Linked DNA regions of Homo sapiens: regions 1 and 3 are each linked to region 2. Evidence: promoter capture Hi-C in 16 types of primary human blood cells and fetal thymus (Javierre and others, 2016). All regions are on one chromosome and are shown on one strand. The core of a region is centred on a gene start or on the middle of the fragment in contact, and the rest is flanking DNA. Distances in the headings are between cores, read along the strand shown.

What was found. The method cuts DNA at HindIII sites, captures the fragments that hold promoters and counts their contacts. A CHiCAGO score of 5 or more calls a contact.
Region 1: a contact is called between a fragment that was not itself captured here and the fragment with the promoter of RLIG1 in region 2, in 4 of 17 cell types (M0 macrophages, monocytes, M1 macrophages and 1 more). The highest score is 14.8, in M0 macrophages.
Region 3: a contact is called between a fragment that was not itself captured here and the fragment with the promoter of RLIG1 in region 2, in 4 of 17 cell types (naive CD4 T cells, monocytes, activated CD4 T cells and 1 more). The highest score is 6.1, in naive CD4 T cells.

Annotation. Positions count from the first base shown.
Region 1 is chr12:88,996,171-88,999,374 of GRCh38, forward strand. No RefSeq gene overlaps it. Among named protein-coding and RNA genes, the nearest start is that of LINC02458, 22 kb to the right of the region's middle. The HindIII fragment of the contact is 1,857 bases long and covers 645-2,501 here.
Region 2 is chr12:88,034,088-88,036,913 of GRCh38, forward strand. It overlaps RLIG1 (RNA 5'-phosphate and 3'-OH ligase 1), which reads left to right and starts at 1,449. Exons shown (of 7, transcript NM_001009894.3): 1 at 1,449-1,651. The coding sequence starts at 1,562. LOC107984542 (a long non-coding RNA gene) reads right to left here and starts at 1,409. Exons shown (of 3, transcript XR_007063395.1): 1 at 1,327-1,409; 2 at 1-260. The HindIII fragment of the contact is 2,128 bases long and covers 1-2,003 here.
Region 3 is chr12:89,017,338-89,020,311 of GRCh38, forward strand. It overlaps LINC02458 (long intergenic non-protein coding RNA 2458), which reads right to left and starts at 2,355. Exons shown (of 3, transcript NR_038385.1): 1 at 2,216-2,355. The HindIII fragment of the contact is 6,702 bases long and covers 1-2,974 here.

The sequences.
Region 1 (3,204 bases), core at 323-2,822, 960 kb after region 2:
ACAAGAGAGATTGTAGCAATTTTCAAGAACTGAAAGCATTTGATCTGTCTGGAGCATTGCCTGCAAGCAGGGAGGTATAGAAGATGGAGCTGGAGGGATAATAGCTGGATCATGAGGGACTTCATTTGCCAATTTAAGGTCTGAACTGAATTCTGAGGCTTGAGGAGTTATTGATGCATAAAACACTGGGTCGCTTTAACTATAACATGGAACATAAAGTAGAGAGGGCATGACTACACAGAAATGTAAGCAGATGTTTTTGGGTGGGATTTACATAAAATCTCTTTAAGTGACCTTAATTTGGCATGAATTTTTTTTCTCTCCTCCATTTTATTGCTTTCTCCTTGGAATATGAATGTGATGGCTGGATTCCAGCAAACATCTTGTGACTTTGAGGAAGGAAGTGACATGGAGTGAGTGAGCAAGGAAAAAAAATGAGTCTGGATTTTTATGACTTTGTGCATTCATCTTACTAGTTATAGATCACCTACCTTTGCACTACCCCATCCCTTTTACTCTCTCCTTCCACAGAGTGAACCATGATCCTCTAACTGGTGTGCATCATCCCATAAATTTTTACTTTATTGCATATGAATCGAAAATAAATGTATCATTTTGTGTTATATTAATTAGGATGCATATTAAGCTTCTATAAAAAAGAAACCCCAAAATATAATGGTTCAAAAATTCCATGGCTCATAGAGTCCAGTGATAGGCTAGCAATTCAGGGCAGATGTCTTTACCCACAAGATTAGCCAAGATCTAGATTCCCTCTCTTGTTGCTGCATCATGACCTCGGGTGTCTTCATAGTTGAAGCTGGCATTCTTGCATTCTAGCCATTGGAAAGGGAAAAGAGAGGGAGGGTGGATGTGCAGCCCCCTTTCACATTTATGGATATAAAATTGAAGTTGTACACATAATTCTATTCACACCATATGGGGCAGAATTTTACTCATGGCTGTACCTAGCTTCAAGGGAGGCTGGATAATATCTGCCAGTATAACCATATACATTGCTGAATCTTGGGCAATGGGCTCTTCTCTCGTTGGAAGAGAGAAGGGTAGACTGGATTCTAAGCCAAAATTAGTAACTCGTAGGTTTTTAACATTTATATAAATTGACTGCATTGTGTGTATCTTTCAGTAATTAAGTTTTTTACATTTGATATTGCATTTTTTACATTTGTTCCTGTTACATTAAATAAATTTTAATCGCTTTAATAATTGTATTGCACTCATTCTAGGGATAAATCATACATTATCTGTTCATCTACTGGTGGATGAGATATAAAATTCTAGTAAACCCATCTTCTCTTGTAGTGTTGAACCAATACAAAATCAGTCTAAGCATGTGGGAAATTGCATTTAAAAATGGTGGCTTTCGAGTACACCATGAGGCAAGCTATTCCAGAGGTCATAGAATGGAGAGGTTTACTGGTCAAGTTAAGATGCTCAAATCACATGGCTTACTAAATTAATATAAAACATAGTAAGAAGAAAAGGGAAAGATATGGCATAAGTTAATACAGTTAGGATAGGATGCAAGCAAGATAAAGGGACCACGCTAGCTGAATCCTGTGTCTCTGTGGCACCAGTCTTCCCTCCTGATGATAGGGTTGTGAGGACCAGAGTTGAATTTTGAGGCAAGGGGGTCTCCAGATAAAAGGTGGCTGAGCCAACATATATTCTTGCTCTGTTGAAGAGACCCAGGGGCAATTAACCTGATAAGCAACTATAAATTTTTAATTGCTTTTCCTGGGCAGAGAACTTGTAGGGCCAGAATGGATGACCGATTTTAGACTTACTGCTGCTTCATGCATATCATCAGTATTAGGTGCTTCAGTGCCTCATATCTATTTAATGAATTATAAATATTTAGATCCTCTTCATTCTTCTTTACTTTTTATCTGTGTTTAGCACTCATATGCTCTAATTACTTTATCCATGTCTGTCATCTTACAGGTTACTGACTTATATATAATTAAACATATTAAATGAGTTTCATCAATCCCATTTGTATTTCCTATCTTCTACAACAGAATTGAATATTCTAAAATAATAAAAAAAATACATAGTGTAAGTTAGGGCAGACCTTTCCTATAAGAGGGGAAAGCCTTTACCACTAACTTCATGACATGGTCAAGAGTAATTGTCAGACCTCTTCCAAAGTAGAAGAGATGAAGACATGCCTGGTTTCTTTTTGCAAAATCACCCATATGGTAAATCACTTCACCTCTCCAAGTGCTAAGTGAGTGGATATAGAGAGGTCAGGAAGGTTATACAAATGCAGATAGTTCCACTTAAAAGACAACAGCAGCAGTATGGAATATTTCCCTCTCAAATGAAACTAGAATTCACAGATGAAGAACAAAAACATTACTGTTATAACCTACAAGGCTGGTATCAGGAAATGTAGCTTACATCTGGCAGAGAAGTGGGTTTCATAATGTTGAACTCCGGAATTAGGCTGACTTACTCACAGTCAGTACTGGACCGATACAAGCTTCACACATGGGGAAAAGATTTTCATGACTAAGATTAATGTGGCCCATAATCTTGAGAGCAACTGGGAGCAGTGTCAGTTCCCAGATTCACTTGCCCAGTTCCAGACCCCAAATCAATAGTCAGGTTATTCTCTCCTTATTGGGAGGAGCGAGTGAGGGTGGATGGAAATGAAGTATCTGGAGCAAAAAAAAAAAAAAAAAAAAAAAGTTCTTCCTGACAATTTCCAGTTTTTATCTTAATCTACTGGGTTTAACCATTAAAAGTATAATCAGACAAGGAGAAGATCATTCTATTAGGGTAGCCCCATTCCTATGTTTACAAGGCCTCTTTCTAACACCAACCATTACTCCTTTGGGTTCTTCTTGGAACCACTGCTAATGTAGAGAGCACCCTCCAAAGTCAAGTGTAGAGTAAACTCTCAAAAGGTTCTGAACATGTCAGAGTGGTAAATTAGTTATGTTAGCTCCAAGCCCACTCCATATCAGTGCTGAAATTCACTGTCTATTTTGTCTAGCATCATTGTCCAATATGACTCATGAGAAATTAATATTCAAAGATTAAAGATATACCTGTCAAAAATCTAATTATTTTGCCATTGTGAGTTGAAGTTGAAATAAATGAGAAAGGAGAGTTTAAAGGGCAGCCTCTCTAATTTCTTATTCTACTCAGTCTACCAGCTAAAGGGGTTCTTAGCGGCAC
Region 2 (2,826 bases), core at 199-2,698:
CACAAATGACAGAATGTTGGACTTAAAAGGTTCTGTGGCAGTTTGGGAGGTGACAGTTGATAGTTGTGAAAGTTGTTGTCTCTGAGATTCGTGAAACACGCCGCTTTTTAGAATGCCTCTGAAAGAACAAAGAAGTCACTGGCACTCGACTATAATATGCTAAAAAGTTTCTGGTTCCAACAGCACACAGCCAGCATCAGGTGTTTTCTTTTTTGATAAATGCAGGCGGGGTGTGATGTGGGAGAACATTTTGTGTTTTCCTGTGAGAAAAAGATAGTAGAAAAGAAAGTAAACACTTTGAAATGGCAAATCTCTTTCTTCCTCCCTCCCCTCTGAATCCAGTAATCAAAAAACTGTGAACTTTTTTTAAATTTTATTTTTTTTCACTGTCAGTATTCAATATAACTGTGAACTTTTTAAAGGAAGATGTTTTATTCTTTGAGAACCCCCTTACTAGTTAGATACCTCTAAGTGAGATATAGTTGTTTAATTTTTCCAAGGGCTAAGTCAGTAACATGCTGGACAGTTGAGTACATGCAGATAAGACAAAGAAATGAGACCTGGGCCTAGTCCAAGCCCATAAAGGATGGCAGTAAAGTCAAAATTCCCCTACAACTTCAGGCTAGGAACTACTACATTCAATGAGATGGAAAGGCTACTATTCCTAAATATTTAGTATTTATTTTATTTAGTCATTGTCCATCTTATCACTTACCCTCAAAATATTCTTTTGAGCAGTAAGTTAAGGCTGTTTTTAGCTCGCAGTTGATTGACTACCATTACTCAAGCCATTTGGGCTGTTGGAGCTCACCTTTAATTAAACAAGATTCTTATGAAAAACTTGAGAATGAAATCTGGTTGTAGGTATTCCTGTACTTTTGGATTAGTCTAAGGCTGAAATTTCGCACTCACTCCGAAAAGAACATCAGAATCATTTCGACCATGCTATGCTGCACAATAAGGAGTAGTTCAAACGACAACTTTTTTTGATCCCAGGTGTTTTATTATAGGGTTTTCTGATAGTCTTACCGGAAAGGAAGTTTTCATTCTGCTTGGGAATCTGGGGATGTCTCTAGCCATTTCTAAACTTCTACAGTGCTTCCCCCACGAACTAAAGATAACAGGCAAGCAGTTTCCATTGGAACTGTGTTAAATCGACATCTGAAATGTTCATTGCTTATAATTTGATCTTATTTAATTTCCCAAAAAATCATTAGTTACTAGGTATTGCTAAGTACCCACGTTCGGGAAACGCATCTTTTTTTTTTTTTTTTCACGGTTATTAAAACCGAGGGTGGGGGGCGGAGGACGCACGTGGGAACCCACCAGGCGCCTCAGCTTCTGCACTACAACTCCCAGAAGGCGCCGCGGCCAGGAAGCCGCTTCTGGACGGGCGTTCCCGCCCCTCGCTGGGCTTGGTAGTTGGGGCGCAGCCGCGGTGGCTGGGCGCGGAGTGTGCGTGGCCTGAGCCGTGCGGGTGACTGCTTCAGGGCTTCTCCGCGACTGGACCGGGCGCCGCTCGAAAGCACGCCCTCCATTCGCACTGCTTGTTGGGCTCATCATGAAGCGCTTGGGCTCCGTGCAGCGGAAAATGCCGTGTGTGTTTGTGACGGAGGTGAAAGAGGAGCCTTCCTCCAAAAGGGAGCATCAGGTACGGAGGAGCGCCGGGCAGGCTTGGCGGCCCGCGTGGGCTCCTCCCCGCGGCGCTGGCTCAGTGCGAACCCGGCGAGGGCGGCTGGGCGCTTTAGAACTGCCCTGCAGGCCAGGAACCTCTGTAGGTTTCCCTGGGGAGGTCTGGGGTGGGAGTTCCGTACGCCCTGAGCTCCAGGTTCTTGTACTTTTCTTAGTTGTGAGGGAGGGAATTTGCGAAAGAATTTTCCTTATCAGGAGATTCAAACTTGTCCTCGCAAGGAAATGGATAACTCACATCCACAGCATGTCCCTTCCTTTTCAGGTCAGCACCTTTTGGGGAAACCCCCTAATCAGGTAATTGCCACAGTCCAAGCTTTACTACTTTTCAAGAGTGCAGTAAGAAAGGGTGGATATTAGAAGACTTGCTTTACCTGTTCTGTCCGAACCAGTGGCGGTGTTGACAGTAGCCTAATTAGGTCACTGAAGTTCACACCTCATATTACCAGTAATTACTTAATTTATTCTAACTTTGGTGTTCTCAAGGTTTTCTGTTGCAGCAACGTGTTTTCCATAGTGTGCCCTCGGTAAATGCTAGTGAGTAACCTATATTTGGGTAATTTTTTCATATTGTACTATAAAACGTTGTAGTCTTTGATCAGTAGAATCCCCAGTGATTAGTTGGGTGCTTCCCAACTTTGCTGATTTCAAACAAAACCAACATGTCCATTGGAAATCCACCTCACTTGAGTTTCATCATTGGCACTGGCTTTCTCGTCTTCTGGACTAAAACTTGTTTAAGGCAAAGATTGCCCTGTTATCTTTAGTCCCAGCTTCTAGGACCTGGCACGTGGTAGGCACTGGATAAATATTTGTTGAATTAAAGAATGAACCCTGGAATCATTTCATGCCAGTTTTCCATTCACCTTGATGCTTTTTACCTTATAGCATCTGATCTTTTCCTGCTTTCTAGTGCTGTCACAGCTGTTACAGTTAATATTTCATGTCCTGCTCATTGCACCACCTAACTGGTCTTACTTGCCACTCAGACTGATCATCACCATGTTCTTTCCTCGTCAGAATACCACAGTTATTACTCAATGTTTGTAGCAGTAATTGGCTTTTTTTTTTAGCTGTAACAAATGTAATCCATATGAAACATTATCATCTGTTTTAGTATTTCACTCTACTGTGATT
Region 3 (2,974 bases), core at 337-2,836, 980 kb after region 2:
CTACAGTCAACAGATGGCGCTCTAGTTCCAATTGTTACAGAAGTTCTCTGCCCATCCGCAAGCAAAGCGTTGTTTTCATCAGTGAAAAGAGAATAAACACTGTGCTTTAACTTTTTTACGTAGCTAAAGAAAATAAATAAAGCGTCTTAATTCCTTTCAGAGATTACTTTCAACTCAATTATGAAGTTAATATTAGACAGCGACTTTTAGAACAGAAGTCATACTTGAAAATATTATGCATATCAAAACAGCAGATAGAGTTTTAAAAAGCAAGAGTTTTACAAGCAGATAGACCTGGATTCTAATTTAAACCCTACCATTTTCTCACTGTGCGTCCTTGAGCAATTTGCTGAAACTCTTTGAATCTCAGTTTCCTCTTCTGCAAAATTTTGACAATAATACCTACTTCTGAAGGTAGTTTTGACAATTAGAAATAATGTCACATGCTTTGCAAAACATTTAGTATGTAGTAACTACTCAGAAAGATATAGCTATTCTAATTAGTGACAGAGAACATACAAACATACAGGTAGGATTTCTCTGCCTTAGATCATATGTGTTTAAATGAGTTTGAAGCATCAGAGATCTAGTTGTAAATTCTGAGTAAGCTGAAAGTGTTATACGGTTATGCTTTCTCTAAACCAATCATTGAAGTGATGCCATATTAATATGGCAGAAAGTTTGTAATATATTTTTAGGTAGAGAGAAAAAAACAGATTATAAAATGGTAATATAGTGTCATCCCAATTTTGTTTAAAAACAGTATACATCTAGTAAGATATAAACCAAAATGTTAAGGTTAGTTATCACTGGTTTATGAGACTATAGTTTATTTCTATATTTTTAACACTTTTCTGCATTTTTAATATTTTCTATAATAAATAAGTATTCATTTTTCATGACAAAAAGAAATGTCATGTAATAATATGAAGTCAAACATATATCAAATATTGATACTGCAAAAGTTTTCTTTTGTGAACCAGTTGAATCCATAGAAGGACCGCTCTCAGAGCTCAAACACAGTGCTCCAGGGTGCTACCTGCTGCTTAGAATTCTCCATAGGAGAAACGAGAAAAAGAAAAACCAAGCCCAGTTATGCTTCTCTGTGCCAGTTTTTCAAGCCAGCATATATAGAAGTATCTAGAAGATATACAAATGATTAGGAAACAGGAAGTTCAGCCAGCCACATTATTTAGGATCATGTCAAATACATCCCTAAAAATTAAAAAGTAATAATGATTTCCGTATTTCTTATTAATCTTAATTCGTGAGACAAGGCCTTTGTATCAATTCATAATAAATTTAGGAGTATTCGTGAAAAATTTTAAATACAATATATACTTTGACCAGCAACCCCACTTCATGGACACTGACCTACAGAAAGACACATTTGTGTACCAAGTTTCATGGCCAAGAATTGTACAGGAAAACATTGTAAGAACAAAGATTTCCACTAAAGGGGAAATGATTTTAACATTATGAGACATTTATACTATGTAATGCTATCCATCTGCCAAACAGAATGCTATAGACTTCTACATATGGACATGGAATGATCTCCTACACGTATTAACTGTAAGAAAAATAAGCAAATTCAAGAACTATTTCCCAAAGAAACCCCTTTTATGTTTTAATAAATCTATATGTGTGTATAGATTTGTATATTTATATATGTAAATACATAGAAATATTGAAAAGGTCTAGAAAGATACATACCCAGTTATTAACAATGACTATGTCTAGGAAAGGTCGTTTTTAAAACTTTATATTTTCTGAATTGTTTTAATTCCTTCATACACACACATTTCCATTTATAAACTTGAATTCAGTTGAACTCTTGGCAGGGATGGAAGACATGGTGTCCATCTAGCCACAGAGACATAACTGATAGCTCAGACTGGTAGGAGAATCAATTAACGCACTCATTCAACAAACATTTATTGAATATTTACAAGATGCCAAGCCTATGCTAGAAACTGTAGGTGCAAAAATGAAAATAGTAAAACATTGTCTCTGTCTTCAAATTTTCCACGAAGGTATACATACCTCATTAAAAAAATCTGGATTTTCACTTGTTCTTTATCTTATATGTTTTTTATAAAGTTAGTAGAAACAACGGTTTCTTAGTGTTGCAGAAAACGCAGTAATGAATCATTAACAATGAATCATTAACAATGAATCAACAGTGGCTCGAGGAAACATCTTTATGACTTACATCATTAAGATTTGAAGAATTGATTCTGCTCCCACCTCCTAACATATACCCTTCTACCCCTAAGCTCACGGTTGATGCCAAAATCTCTTTATTGTGAGTTACACGGAGACAGGAGCAGCGACGCAAGCTACGTGAAGTCTACTAAATCCACTGTTGCCCTCTCGGTAAACCAGTATGAATGCAGCAACAGGAAGGACCACAAGATGGCAGACTGGAAACGAGTCATGGAGCCTACAGCAGGCGATGAGGTGCTACAGCCAGTGGAATCCCGTAGCCCTGGCATCTGAAGAGAGACTGGGAAGGGCTTTATAGATCTGTTGAACGGAGGGATCAGAGCGAAGAACAATTTTGGCACCACTCTAGTGCTTGCTCACATCTCTTAGTGTTCTATTTAGTTGTTTTTACCATCTAAAAAACAAACCATGTTCATCTCTTCTTCCCACCCCAAATAGATAGTCATACTCATCAAAATCAATCATAGCTTTCTATTTTAGTATGATTGAGTAGCAGAATTTTTAAATTGGACAGGATCTCCCCAAATTTGAGGATGAGGTGCTTCATGCATAGGGAGGAGGCAGAAAGATAGATAGGGACCTGGTGGGACAAAGAAGCACAAGTCCACATTGTCATAAGGAAAGGCTCTTTTCATGATGTATGGGGACTAGGGTTGAGAAATTATTTTCAGGAAGTTGTGTGAGTAAGGCCAAAACTGTAATTTTCCAGACTTTATACCTGTGCATGCAGAGACACATAGGTAAA